Regions from separate parts of the Homo sapiens genome. Here all the other regions are linked to region 1. Evidence: promoter capture Hi-C in human tissues and cell types (Jung and others, 2019). All regions are on one chromosome and are shown on one strand. The core of a region is centred on a gene start or on the middle of the fragment in contact, and the rest is flanking DNA. Distances in the headings are between cores, read along the strand shown. Region 1 holds the start of NPAP1 (nuclear pore associated protein 1). Region 2 overlaps PWRN1 (Prader-Willi region non-protein coding RNA 1). Region 3 has its middle 41 kb from the start of SNHG14. Region 4 has its middle 68 kb from the start of SNHG14.

Region 1 (3,341 bases), core at 375-2,874:
ATGCTGAAACTTCCAGCTCTTAAAACAGTAACACATATTTCCTTTGTCCTAAAAACCAATATTAAGTCTCCTTCCTTGGGCATAAGAATATGGATAGTTATACTTAGGTGACAGTAATGTGTGGTAAAGAGTGGGCCTTGCTGGCATGCGGACAATGACCAAATTGTATTGATCATATTTTAATCGAATACATTGCTCCACTACTGACTTGCAAATACATGATGAATTTGCTTTCTAACATATTCCAAGAAGGCCAGAGAACTGGCTTATCCATTTGGATTAATCCACTGGTGAATTTCTTTCGGGATAGGCCAAAATGGATCTGGACTATAATCTTTACATATTTAGATCCTTCAAACTAGACCAAAAAGGAAATCTGGGCTGCAAGGCTCAATTAGAAGAACAGTGTGGGATGCTGCTTTGCTGACTATTGGGGGTCGCTGCCCCATGTCTTCAGAGGAGACTGGAGCCCAGTGCCTGCCATGACCAACTTATGAGGTGAAGTAAGGGCTTCCCCCTAGGAACGCATGTGCTTAATACAGATGTGCTGTGTGCTAGGTACCCTAAGGACTACAGGAAATAATGAGAATACATGATGTGTCCATAACAAGGAGGCACACAGGCCACGGCACCAGCTCTGGAATCACACAGCCCAGGTTCGAAGCCTGGCTAGGCCACTGTCATATCAATGACCCAAGGAGCAAGCAGCCTAAGGCTTAAATGTTGTTGCTGTTGTTTGTTGTGGTTTTTTGTTTTTGTTTTTGTTTGAGACAAGAGTTTTGCTCTGTTCCCCCAGGCTGGAGTGCAGTGAGGTGATCTCAGCTCACTGCAACCTCCACCTCCCGCTTTCAAGCGATTCTCCTGCCTCAGCCTCCCTAGTAGCTGGGATTACAAGTGCGTGCCACCACGCTCAGTTAATTTTTGTATTTTTAGTAGAGATGGGGTTTCACCATGGTGGTCAGGCTGGTCTCGAACTCCTGACCTCAGGTGATCCACCCGCCTTGGCCTCCCAAAGTGCTGGGATTAAAGGCGTGAGCCACCGCGCCCAGCCTTAAATGTTGTTTAAAACAAATTTGTGAAAAGAAGTGAAGAGGCCCTGCCTGCCAGGAAGAGATGTGGTAGGGCGTAGCATCTAGTCAGGACAAGGCACCACGTCCCCTCCTCGGAAACCCTCACGGCCTGGCTGGTGACCCTGGCGCCACAGAGACGGCACACCTGGCTCCAGGCAGCACAGAGCACTGCCAAGGTCCTAGAGGAGGCTGGCAGGATATAGGTTGTCCTGTGCTTAACTTGAAGCAGATGTGCCCTCTGTGAACCGGGGAATGGGGACGGCCGACACAGGGCCACTGCGTGCAACAGCGCCGGGCCAGGGCTAAGGAACAGGCAGAGCCGGCGCCCAGGTGACAAGAGCTCTGGCGATGGGCCCGCAGGCCCCAGCAGTTCCCTCATAGAGGCCACGCGGTGCAACACCTGCCACCGGCAGCGGGGCTTCCGGGGGTCCTGGGGCAGCTGGGGCCGACGGGGCGTCGCCCTTTGCCCTCTGACCCCTGCCTTTTGCGCCCCCGCTGGCGCTCCCTGGTTCTGTGAGGAACCTCGCGGCGGCGTCGCAGGCGTAGAGCCAGTCAGTTTGTGCTTGGTCGCCAGAGGAGGCGGTGGCTGAGGAGAGTTGAGTCCACTGCTGACCCTGTTTTACGGTAGGAGGCACGGCTAGCTCTAAATGGGCAATTTACTTAGTAAATTTAGACCCGGGTGCCGCCGCCGGCCCCTGCCAGGGCCAGGGCGTGGCGCCCCCGCTCCCCTGTCCCGGGACGCCTCCCCGCCCGGTCGGGCTCACTCTGTACCCACCCCGCGCCCTTTCCGCGGCCTGTTCCGCCGGAACGCCCGTCGCAGGCCTTCAGCAGCCAGCATCTTCGTCGCCCCTAAGAGGCCGTGTCCTCTCCCTCGGGCTGCGGCCGCCCCTCTGGGGGTCCTGCCGGCTGTGGGTTGGGGGCTGGCCATCAGGAAGACACCCATGCTGCCTGCTCGGAACCCCCCGAGGTTTGGACACCCCAGTTCCGTAAGGATCCCTCCTCCCAGCCGCATGTTCACTCTCCTGCTGCCTTCACCACGTGAGCCGGCGGTCAAGGCCAGGAAGCCCATCCCAGCCACTCTCCTGGAGGAGACCGAGGTGTGGGCCCAAGAAGGGCCCAGAAGAGTGAAGAAGGATGAGGATCCGGTGCAGATCGAAGGGGAGGATGACGAGAAAAGGACCCCCCTTAGCAGCGGAGAAGCATCGTCCACATCCAGGTCCCAGGGCACCCAGGGAGACGTGGCCTCCTTCAGATGCAGCCCTGGGCCTCTGGAGGGAAATGTCTACCACAAGTTCTCAGAAAACAGCATGAGTGAGAAGGCCCAGGCGTCTCCAGCGAGCTCCTGCTTGGAAGGCCCTGCCATGCCCAGCACACACAGCCAGGCCGGATGTGCCCGGCATCTTGGAAAGCCTGATCCGGATGCAACAGCGCCCCCTGAGCCAGCCGTTGGCTGCTCCCTGCTGCAGCAGAAGTTGGCTGCGGAAGTGCTGAATGAAGAGCCACCGCCCAGCTCCCTAGGCTTGCCGATTCCGCTGATGTCCGGAAAGAGGATGCCTGATGAGAAGCCTTTCTGTATTCCTCCAAGGAGCGCTGCTCCTCCCAGAGCTGCCCGCAACAGGCCCTGCAAAAGGAAAATGTCGATTCCATTGCTGCTGCCGCTGCCCCCTTCACTGCCATTGCTGTGGGATCGAGGTGAGCTTCCCCCACCTGCTAAGCTCCCCTGCCTGTCTGTTGAGGGAGACCTACACACCTTGGAGAAGAGCCCTGAGTATAAAAGGAATAGCAGAATCTTGGAGGATAAAACAGAGACCATGACAAACAGCAGCATCACCCAGCCTGCCCCTTCTTTCTCCCAACCTGTGCAGACCACAGACTCCCTGCCCCTGACCACTTACACTTCCCAGGTCTCAGCTCCTTTGCCCATCCCTGACTTGGCTGACCTGGCTACTGGACCCCTCATCCTGCCTATCCCTCCACTTTCCACCACACCAAAAATGGATGAGAAAATAGCATTCACAATCCCTAACTCTCCTCTGGCTCTTCCTGCTGACCTTGTTCCCATTTTGGGTGATCAGTCTAATGAGAAAGGAGGCTCTTATAATTCAGTCGTAGGAGCAGCGCCTCTCACTTCTGACCCCCCAACACCTCCTAGCTCCACACCCTCCTTCAAGCCTCCCGTCACAAGGGAGTCCCCAATATCTATGTGTGTGGATTCCCCTCCTCCTCTTTCCTTCCTGACTCTTCTTCCAGTCCCTTCCACCGGGACCTCAG
Region 2 (3,341 bases), core at 314-2,813, 110 kb before region 1:
ATCATCACTGGCCATCAGAGAAATGCAAATCAAAACCACAATGAGATACCATCTCACACCAGTTAGAATGGCGATCTTTAAAAAATCAGGAAACAACAGGTGCTGAAGAGGATGTGGAGAAATGGGAGCACTTTTACACTGTTGGTGGGACTGTAAACTAGTTCAACCATTATGGAAGTCGGTGTGGTGATTCCTCAAGGATCTAGAACTAGAAATACCATTTGACCCAGCCATCCCATTACTGGGTATATACCCAAAGGATTATAAATCATGCTGCTATAAAGACACATGCACACGTATATTTATTGTGGCACTATTCCTTAAGATGTTCTATACACAGGATTATGTCATTCATGAATAGAGATAGCTTAACTTCATCCTTTTCATTCTAGAAGTCTTATATTTATGTTTCTTGCCTAATTACCCTGGCTGCATGTTCCAGTACAATACTGAATAAAAGTAGCAAGAGCATACATCCTTGTCCTGTTGCTAATTTTTTGAAGAAATTACTGAAACATTCATCATATGTTGTGTTGTTGTGTGAGTTTTTCATAGATGCCCTTTATCACTTAAGAAAATTTCCTTCCATGCCTAATTTGCTCAGCCTTGTTATCTTGAATGTGTTTTGGATTTTTCAACTGCTTATTCTGTATCTTTAGAGATAATTATGAAGCTTTTGTCCTTCATTCTATTAATATAGTGTATTACACTAATAGTTTTTTTATGTTTAAGAAAACATATTTCAGGGACAAATGACTTTGCTCATAATGTATATTTTTATTAGGCTACAGGTTTATTTTGATAGTATTTCCTTCAGAATTTTTGCCTCTGTTTCATGGGGCGTATTTGTCTGTAATTTTCCTTTCTTGAAATCTCTTTGTCCAGTTGTGCTATCAGGGAAAACGGGCTTCGTGCGGCGTATTGGGAAGTGTTCTCTACTCCTCTGTTTTTATAATTTTTCTTGAAAGATTAGTTAATAAGGGATTGTTATTAATTCTCAAAGGGGTTAGAATAATTCACCAGTGAAGTCATCACAACCTAGAAAAAAATTGAATCCTACCAACACTAACATGAGCTGGGAAAGGGATCCTTCCCCAGGGGAGGCTTCACTTGAAACCTCAGCCTGGGACATCTGACCCAGAGAAAATGTTAAATAATATTTATGTGTGGGTTTGAACATCTAAGCTGTTCGGTTATATGTTATACAGCGACCTATAGGTAATATGCCTGACAGTAAATGTAATTAAATTCTAGAACAGAAAATGACATCAGTGGAAAACCTGGCAAAATATTAAGAAAGTCTGTATTTCAGTTAATAGTTTTGTACCACTGTCAATTTCTGAGTTTTCATAAATACATTCTGGTTACATAAGTTGTTAACATTTCAGGAAGCTGTAGATTATGTAAAACTGTATTATCTTTGCAAGTTTCTGTAAAACTAAAATTATTTTCAAATAAAAATGTTCTTAAAATGTATTATTTAGGAACAAAAAAAAATACCAACACAGATGGACATAAACAACAAGAAACCTTGGATCAGAGGATGAGTGGAGATGCAGGGAGTGAAAGGCAAAGTACTTGCCTTATTATCCCCATTCCTACACAGGGCACCTGCTTCAGGCTTCAGGCGCCTCATCAAGCTCCAGGGACTCTCATCCATTTTCTTCTTTCCCATCATATGCTCCATTACCCAGTCACCAGTTCATACATCAGTAACCACTTTTTCAAAGAAAGGTGCCTGCCCCACATGTGTTAGAAGGCCCTATTTTCAGACACTTTGTGGTAGTGTCTTTGTGGGATCTCACTAGAGACATTTTGGAAGACATGACTTCCAGACAAGATTGAGAAACACCAGTGATGGGGAACATAAATAATATTTCTACATTAGGAGTGTTTTCTTAGTTCAGAGATTCTTTTGTTCAAGTTTCAAAGTTTTTTAAAGCCTTTGAGAATACCCTATGATAATTAAGTTCTCTTTATTATGCAGACTTCATCATGAATTCATGGCATCACACAGTCCCCTGATGCTATAACATCATGGATTTCTTTTGTCCAGTGAGAGGCCCAAAAGCTGCAGCATAGACAATATCATAGTGTAGAAGGTTCACTAGGTATGAAAATAAAAGCTTCTAATCATGGGGTTGTAGGCTAATTCCTGCTTACAGAGACCTGAAATGAACCTTTAGACACCAGGCATATGAAAGTGAGGCATGTTAGTGATACAGAGTGTGTTGTGCAGAGGTGGAAATAGCCTAATAGAAAAAAGGGAAGAAGAGCACAGTACAACATAGCCCAGCCCACCATGTAGTGATCTAAGAGATGGACACGGGCTGAGTGCTGACTTTGCATCTGTACTGGTTAAACAAAGATCCCCACAGCAGGGAGGACTGTCCCCTCATCACCCACATAGCTCCCCGTTCACAGGCCACACCACTTTACGGGAGAGCACCAGGGTTGTTCCAGGAACAATGTCCACAAAGCTTACTAAGCCATGGGACTGTGTGCTACACTCCCAAGGACATCCACGAAGTTAGGACTCTTTTTGCTTTTTCAGACCGTGATCATGGGCTACATTCTCCGTACCAGCTTCATAGCTCCAGTGAGAAAATAAATTCCTGCATCCAGGAGATGTGGAGTAAGAGATACAGCTGCCCTTGACCATATTTCTTACTTCCGAGAAGATCGTAGCAGTAATTCAGGTGCTATTATTTGGGACATTTATAATTCAATAAACCTTCTTACCCCTCTGAGCTTACAATTCACCCCATAGGAAGGAGAGCCTCATTTAAATTGATAATCTCAGGCCGGGCGCGGTTGCTAACGCCTGTAATCCCAGCACTTTGGGAGGCTGAGGCGGGCGGATCACAAGGTCAGGAGATTGAGACCATCCTGGCTAACACGGTGAAACCCTGTCTCTAATAAAATACAAAAAATTAGCCAGGCGTGGTGGTGGGCACCTGTAGTCCCAGCTACTCAGGAGGCTGAGGCAGGAGAACGGTGTGAACCCAGGAGGCCAAGCTTGCAGTGAGCTGAGATCCTGCCACTGCACTGCAGCCTGGGGGACAGAGCAGGACTGTGTCTCAAAAAAAAAATATGGACAATCTTAGTAAATGGAAGTTTGCTCGTTTCATTTCATTATAAGAGGAGTTTCTATAAGGTAAGTGACTTGTCAAATCCCATTTTTCTCTTCATTTCTATGCATACATATGGTCTGTTATGATGTGTACTGTGAAGATCATTCATCACCAAACTATTCAGGAAAAACAAAATCACCAAGTGGCAGGCCATGAAGGAGATGGAAGTAGATGTGTCTAAGGAGAGACTCATCTCTAGGTAGCAAG
Region 3 (3,341 bases), core at 260-2,759, 110 kb after region 1:
GAGACAGGGTTTCACCATGTTGGCCAGGCTGGTCTCAAAACTCCTGACCTCAGGCGATCCACCTGCCTCGGCCTCCCAAAGCGCTGGGATTACAGGCCTGAACCACCTTTGTATACTGCAAAGTTACTGAACTTGTTTTTAGATTCTAATCTTACTTTACTGAATTCCTTAGGATTTTCTATACACAGGATTATGTCATTTGCAAACAAAGATGGTTTAACTTCTTCCTTTCTATTGTGAATGTCTTACATTTTTTGTAGCCTAATTGTCCTGGCTACATCCTCCAATACTCTGTTGAATAGAAGTGGCAAGAGTGGACCTCAGTGTCTTATTTCTAATCCTGGAGAAATTACTGAGGCTTCCATGACATTGTATGTTTCTATGTGAATTTTTAATTGATGCTCTTTATAGGCAAAGTTCCCTTCTATGCTTCATTTGCTCAATGTTTTCATAAATGCTCCAATCATAAATGGGGTTTTAATTAGTCAAATGCTTATTCTTCATCTTAAGTGATCATGTGTTTTTACTCTTTATACTATTTAGATAGTATATTTTACTAATTGTTTTTGTATGTTTATCCAAACTTGCAATGCTGGAATAAATACCCTTGGTCATAGTGTATATCCTTTGTCTACGGTGCTTTTGTGTTTTGATAGTTTTTCCTTGAGGATTCTCGTATTTATAAGGCATGTTGGTCTCTAATTTTCCTTTCTTACAATGTCTTTTTCCAGTTGTAGTATCAGGTTAACTGACTTCATAAAATGCATTGGGAAGTGCTCTCTTTTTCCTTTTTGGTTTTCGTTCCTTTGTTTGTTTTCTTCTTCTCTTGGGAGAGGAGTTAGTGAAGGATTGTTATAAATTCTTTAAAGTTTTGGTATAATTTACTAGTGAAGTAATCTCACCCTGGGCATGTAATTGAATCCTAACAACAATCTGTGAGCTTGGAAGATGATTCCTCCCCAGCTGAACCTTCAGCTGAGACTTCAGCCTAGACATCATCTACACCAGGATTCATGCCCTAAAGAAACAGTGAGTAATATGTGTGTGTGTGGTTTTGAGGCACTTTGCTGTATAAATGAGTTATACAGCAATAAATAAGTAATAAACCTGACAGTTAATGTACTGTGGCATCTGGAATGAATCATTGACAGAAAAAGTGACATTAATGTAAAATCGGGTAAAGTATAAAGACAGTCTGTATTTCAGTTAATGGTTTTTACCACATTCAATTTTATTTGTTTTCACAAATATGTTATGGCTATTTAAGATGTTAAGATTGCAAGAAGCTGAATGGTATACAAAACTCTTTATATTCTCCTTATACCTTTCAGTAATCTAAAATTAATTGTTATTTTTAATTGTCAGATAATAAGTGTATGTACTCTTACTCATGGGGTTAATTGTGGTGTTTTGTTATATGTATACATTGTGGAATGGTCAAATTAGGCTAATCATCATATCCATTACCTCAAATATTTATTATTTCTTTGTGGTGAGAACATTTAAAATCATCTCTTTTAGCTGTTTTGGGAAATATACAACACATTCTTATTATCTATATTCACCATGCTGTGAAATAAATCACCAGACATTATTCCTCCTGTCTAATAGAAACTTCAAACCCTTTGACCAATGTCTCTCCTTCCCCAACCACCCCTTCATAACAACCTGTGGTAACCACCATATGATTCTCCACTTCTATGAGTTTGACTTCTAAGATTCCACATATAATTGAGATCATATGGTAATCGTCCCTCTGTGTCTAGCCTATTTTACCTAGCATAATGTACTGTAGGTTCATCCAAGTTGTTGCAAATGACAGAATTTCCTATATTTTTAAGGCTGAATGGTATCACATTGTGTATATGTACCACATTTTTGTTAATCCATTTATCCATTAATGAGCTCTTAAATTGTTTCCAAATCTTGGCTAATGTAAATAATGCTGAAATGAACATGAGAGTAAAGACATCTCTTCAACATAGTGATTCCAATTTTTTTGGCATATACCCTGGAGAGAGATTGCTATATCATATAGTAATTCTATTTTTAATTTCTTGTGACACTTCCATAGTATTTTCTAAAATATCTGTACTAATTGACATTCCCACCTACAATGTACAAAGTTTGTCTTTTTTCATTTCCTCACCAACATTTGTTATATTTCATCATCCTGACAATAGCCAAAGTAGCAGGTGTGAGCCAATATCTCATTATGATTTTAATTTACACTTCTCTGATGATTACAAATGTTGAAGAATTTTTTCATATGTCTGTTGGACAGTTGTATGTCTTATTTTGAAGTCCTTTGCCCATTTTTTATGTTGTTACTTATACTCTTGTAATTAAGTAGTGCTGAGACCAGCTCGGTCGTGGAGACCATAATCCTGTGGCACTAGAGGAATTAAAGACACACACACAGAAATGTAGGGTGTGGAGTGGGAAATCAGGGGTCTCACAGCCTTCAGAGCTGAGAGCCCCGAACAGAGACTTACCCACATATTTATTGACAGCAAGCCAGTGATAAGCATTGTTTCTATAGATTATAGATTTACTAAAAGTATTCCCCCATGGGAAACAAAGGGATGGGCCAAAAGGAAGGGATGGGTCTGGCTAGTTATCTGCAGCAGGAACATGTCCTTAAGGCACAGATCACTCATGCCATTGTTTGTGATTTAGGAATGCCTTTAAGCGGTTTTCCGCCCTGGGTGGACCAGGTGTTCCTTGCCCTCATCCCGGTAAACCCACAACCTTCAGCGTGGGCATCATGGCCATCACAAACATGTCACAGTGCTGCAGAGATTTTGTTTATGGCCAGTTTTGGGGCCAGTTTATGGCCAGATTTGGGGGTCTGTTCCCAACAAAGTAGTTTGAGTCTTGTATATTTTTTAAGCATTTCACAATTAAAATCTTATTTTAAAAGTGTTGTTTTGGTACCAAAAAAAAACTACACAGACATAAACAAATAACCTCCATCAGGTAATGATGATTCATTGGATGATGGTCATATACATAGGGAGAGAATAGGAAAGCATCTTCCTTATCTATTCACAATTCTAAATTCAGGTGCATCTGCTTCAGAAAGACACCATCAAGCTCCAGGAACTTTTCTCCTCTTTCTTTTTTCCCACTGGCTTCCCATTACATAGTCACCACTTTCCTGAGTGTCAGTAATCACTTCTTCAAAGAAAGCTTCCTGTGTCTCACATATCACAGAAAACCCCATTTTAAGAAGTTGTCAGATAGTTTATCTACAAGATCCCACTAAAGCCTTTTTGGAAGGCAGGGATTCAGGACATTAGAAGGAAAGATTGAGAGATACCAATGACAAGGAACATAAG
Region 4 (3,341 bases), core at 621-3,120, 80 kb after region 1:
GTGAAAACAGGTGAATCAAAACACAGATTCCATTCTGTCGTATAAAACAGAACATCACAAATCATTTTCATAGATAGCTTTTTTCTAGTTTTTAGAGCTGGATATACGTTTTTGTTTTTTGTTTTACATGATTCAACGGCCTCAGTAATGTCACTTCATAGATTCTACGAAAGAGTGTTTGGAACCTGCTGAATCAAAACACAGGTTCCATTCTGTGATAATAAAAATGTACATCACAAAGCGTTTTCACAGACAGGATGTTTCTAGTTTTTTATAGTTGGATATTCGTTTCTTTTAAATTTGGGGATGACCTTGCCCTGCTGTCTTTCACTACATACATACCACAGCTATATAGTTTGCATGGAGTACTGGGTGGCTCTCAATATTTAGGAAAATTAAGATTAGTGGTATCAAATCACAATACAATAAAATAACGAAGATGATGGAGACCAGGGGAACTGTCTTGTTTTGTTTTGTTTTTAAGAAGATCTGCCCTTGAAATTCTCTGTATAGAGTATAGAAGACCACAGCCCCTGACCACAGCATCACCTGGCAAACAAATATCCATCTATCATTTGGAATAAAAATATCCATAAAGTATCAATGCTCTTGGAAACTTGGATTCTCACAGCTCATAAATGTTTTGGAAATCCTGCCAAAAATATTTTTTAGATCACTAGACTGAAGATTTCATTGCTTGTGTAGCAGCCAGTTGGGCAAAGTTATCTAACACAAAGCCTATTTTATAATAAAATGTGGAATAGCTTATGCAATTTATTGACTACTGTACTGAAGGTGAAAAACACAATGGTTTCATGGGTCCTTGAAGTACACTTTCTGCTGAATTCATGTCAGTTTCCCACTATCATAAAGTTGAAAAATCTTAAGTGAAACATCCCAAGTCACAGAGCATCAAAATGTAATCAGTATATCAGTCACACATAACAACACATTGTAGAAAATGCAGGTTTGGTTTAGGTGTGGTGGTTCATCCTACTCATAAGCAGTTCTTTCATCTCTAACGAGTCGCCTCTCATCGTGGGCTAATGCTGCAACATGGGCTGTGTCATGTAAAAGCCTGTCTTTTTACAGTTAGGAATAAGATGAAAGCGTTGAAGGCTAAGTTCATTAAAATGACTTCTTCGAGTGGCTTTGCCTTTTCTCCTGGACTGCTCCCATAGTTCTGTGACCCATGTCAATATAGAAAATGGTAGCACAAGCCAACCCTCTCTGCATAGGTGCTGGCATGATTCCTCTCTTCCACTCTTAACACTGGGCTTGGATAATGGCTTGATGACACTGAGCAAAACTCTTCTTAAGACCCTCAGTTTCATCTTCTCGACACAAAAAGTCTCAAAAGTCCTTGCCACACTACAGAAGGAAACTTAAAGCTGTAACTTGACACAATCTTAGGGCTCCTATAATTGTTTTAAGTCTTTCAGGGATTACTGTCCGTCCTTGATTGATGTACAGTGTCTTGCAAACCATTGGTCCATATAATTTTTATTGTTCCGTATAATTTCCATTGTTCCATATAAGCTGTCCAGTTTTTTACATTTGTTGAGGCATGTCCAAACCATATTTGTTTTTCCACAGCGTTTTGATTCATACCTTCCACAATTACACAATGATTACTGCATTCCCAGCTGTTTGCTTCTAGCTCGCAATACAAAGGAAAAATGTGTGTGAAACTCACAGAGAAAAATCGATAATTAAACTCCGTTTGTAACACTAAAGGGAAGATCATAATTGACCTATACACAGTATCAGTAGGAGTCTCCATGGAAGTCAGCCACTGTGTGTCAATGAATCAAATATTTCACATGGAACTATAAGAAAGGATATCTCTGTCAATTAACTACAGTCAAGCATTAGAACGGGGATGTGTTCTAAGAAATGTGTCATTTGTCGAGTTGGTCATTTTATTGTCAATGAAAAGAGTCAAACTCTGTAAAATATTTGAAGAGATTTATTCTGGGCCAAATATGGCCCGGGACACAATCTTCAGGAGGTCCTGAGAACACGCACCCAAGGTGGTTAGGGTGCAGCTTGGTTTTATACATTTTAGGGAGGCATGAGATAGCAAATACATATAAGAAATATATTGGTTTGGTCCAGAAAGGCAGGTATTCTAAGAGGGGTGGGGGGTGAAGGTAAACTTAAACATTTTCTGATTGACAATTGGTTGAGTTGGTCTAAAGACCTGGAATCAAAGAAAGGAATGTCTCAGTTAAGATAAAAGGTTGTGGAGACCAAAGTTTTATCATGCAGATGAAGCCTCCAGGTAGCAGGCTTCAGAGAGAATAGGTTTTTGTGTTTATTTTTGTTTTAGAGACAGAGTCTCACTCTATCGCCCAGGCTGGGATGCAGTAGTGCGATCTTGGGTCACTGCAACCTCCACCTCCAGGGTTCAAGCAATTCTTCTGCCTCAGCCTCTCGAGTAGCTGAGATTACGGGATGCGCCAGGGTGCCTAATTTTTGTATTTTTAGTAGAGACAGGGTTTTGCCCTGTAGGCCAGGCTGGTCTTGAACTCCTGACCTCAGGTGATCTGCCCGTCTGGGCCTCCCAAATTGCTGGGATTACAGGCATGAGCCACTGCACCTGCCTAGGTTTTAAAATGTTTCTACTCAGACTTAAAGTTGGTATTAATATTAATGCTGGAGAGGTATACTGAGGCATGACCAACCCCCACTTCCTGTTAGGGCCTGAACCAGTCTTTCAGGTTAAATTTTAAAAGAGCTCTGGCTGAGGGGAAAGTCCATCCAGATGACTGGGCACTCTTAGAATTTTATTTTTTGCTTACATTGTGAACATCATAGAGTGCACTTACACAGACCTAGCTGGTATATCCTCCTATACACCTAGGCTGTATGCCTATTGCTTCTAGGCTACAAACCTTTGCAGTGTGTTACTGTACTGAATATTCTAGCCAATTGTAACACAATGGCAAATATGTGTGCCTGTAAACATATCTAAACATGGAAAAGGTAAGAATACAGTATTAGACATAAAAAATGGCACACCTGTATAGGGCACTTACCATAAACGGAGCTTGCAGGACTGGAAGTTGCTCTGGGTAAATTAGTGAGTGGTGAGTGAAGGTGAAGGCCTAGGACATTACTCTCTGCTTCTGTAGACTTTGTAAACATGGTTTTTGTCCCTTCCATCATTTTCCAGGTGCAGATACGATCTATGGATAAGAAAATTCAGTGTCCATGCCAGGCACGATGGCTCATGCCTATTATCCCAGCACTTTGGGAGACTGAGGCAGGTGGATCATTTGAGGTCAGGAGTTCAAGAGCAGCTTGGCCAACATGATGAAACCCCATGTTTACTAAAA

Evidence for each region. The method cuts DNA at HindIII sites, captures the fragments that hold promoters and counts their contacts. A contact is called where the count stands out against the background at its distance.
Region 2: a contact is called between a fragment that was not itself captured here and the fragment with the promoter of NPAP1 in region 1, in 4 of the 25 tissues and cell types used here (dorsolateral prefrontal cortex, heart left ventricle, heart right ventricle and 1 more).
Region 3: a fragment that was not itself captured here is called in contact with the fragment with the promoter of NPAP1 in region 1 in 4 of the 25 tissues and cell types used here (dorsolateral prefrontal cortex, liver, mesenchymal stem cells and 1 more).
Region 4: a contact is called between a fragment that was not itself captured here and the fragment with the promoter of NPAP1 in region 1, in 2 of the 25 tissues and cell types used here (aorta and spleen).

Annotation. Positions count from the first base shown.
Region 1 is chr15:24,674,151-24,677,491 of GRCh38, forward strand. NPAP1 (nuclear pore associated protein 1) reads left to right here and starts at 1,625. Exons shown (of 1, transcript NM_018958.3): 1 at 1,625-3,341. The coding sequence starts at 1,718. The HindIII fragment of the contact is 8,790 bases long and covers 1-3,341 here.
Region 2 is chr15:24,564,102-24,567,442 of GRCh38, forward strand. It overlaps PWRN1 (Prader-Willi region non-protein coding RNA 1), which reads left to right. Exons shown (of 9, transcript NR_026646.1): 2 at 2,555-2,699. Among named protein-coding and RNA genes, the nearest start is that of PWRN1, 7.6 kb to the left of the region's middle. The HindIII fragment of the contact is 3,541 bases long and covers 1-3,334 here.
Region 3 is chr15:24,780,750-24,784,090 of GRCh38, forward strand. No RefSeq gene overlaps it. Among named protein-coding and RNA genes, the nearest start is that of SNHG14, 41 kb to the right of the region's middle. The HindIII fragment of the contact is 6,461 bases long and covers 1-3,341 here.
Region 4 is chr15:24,754,037-24,757,377 of GRCh38, forward strand. No RefSeq gene overlaps it. Among named protein-coding and RNA genes, the nearest start is that of SNHG14, 68 kb to the right of the region's middle. The HindIII fragment of the contact is 8,191 bases long and covers 1-3,341 here.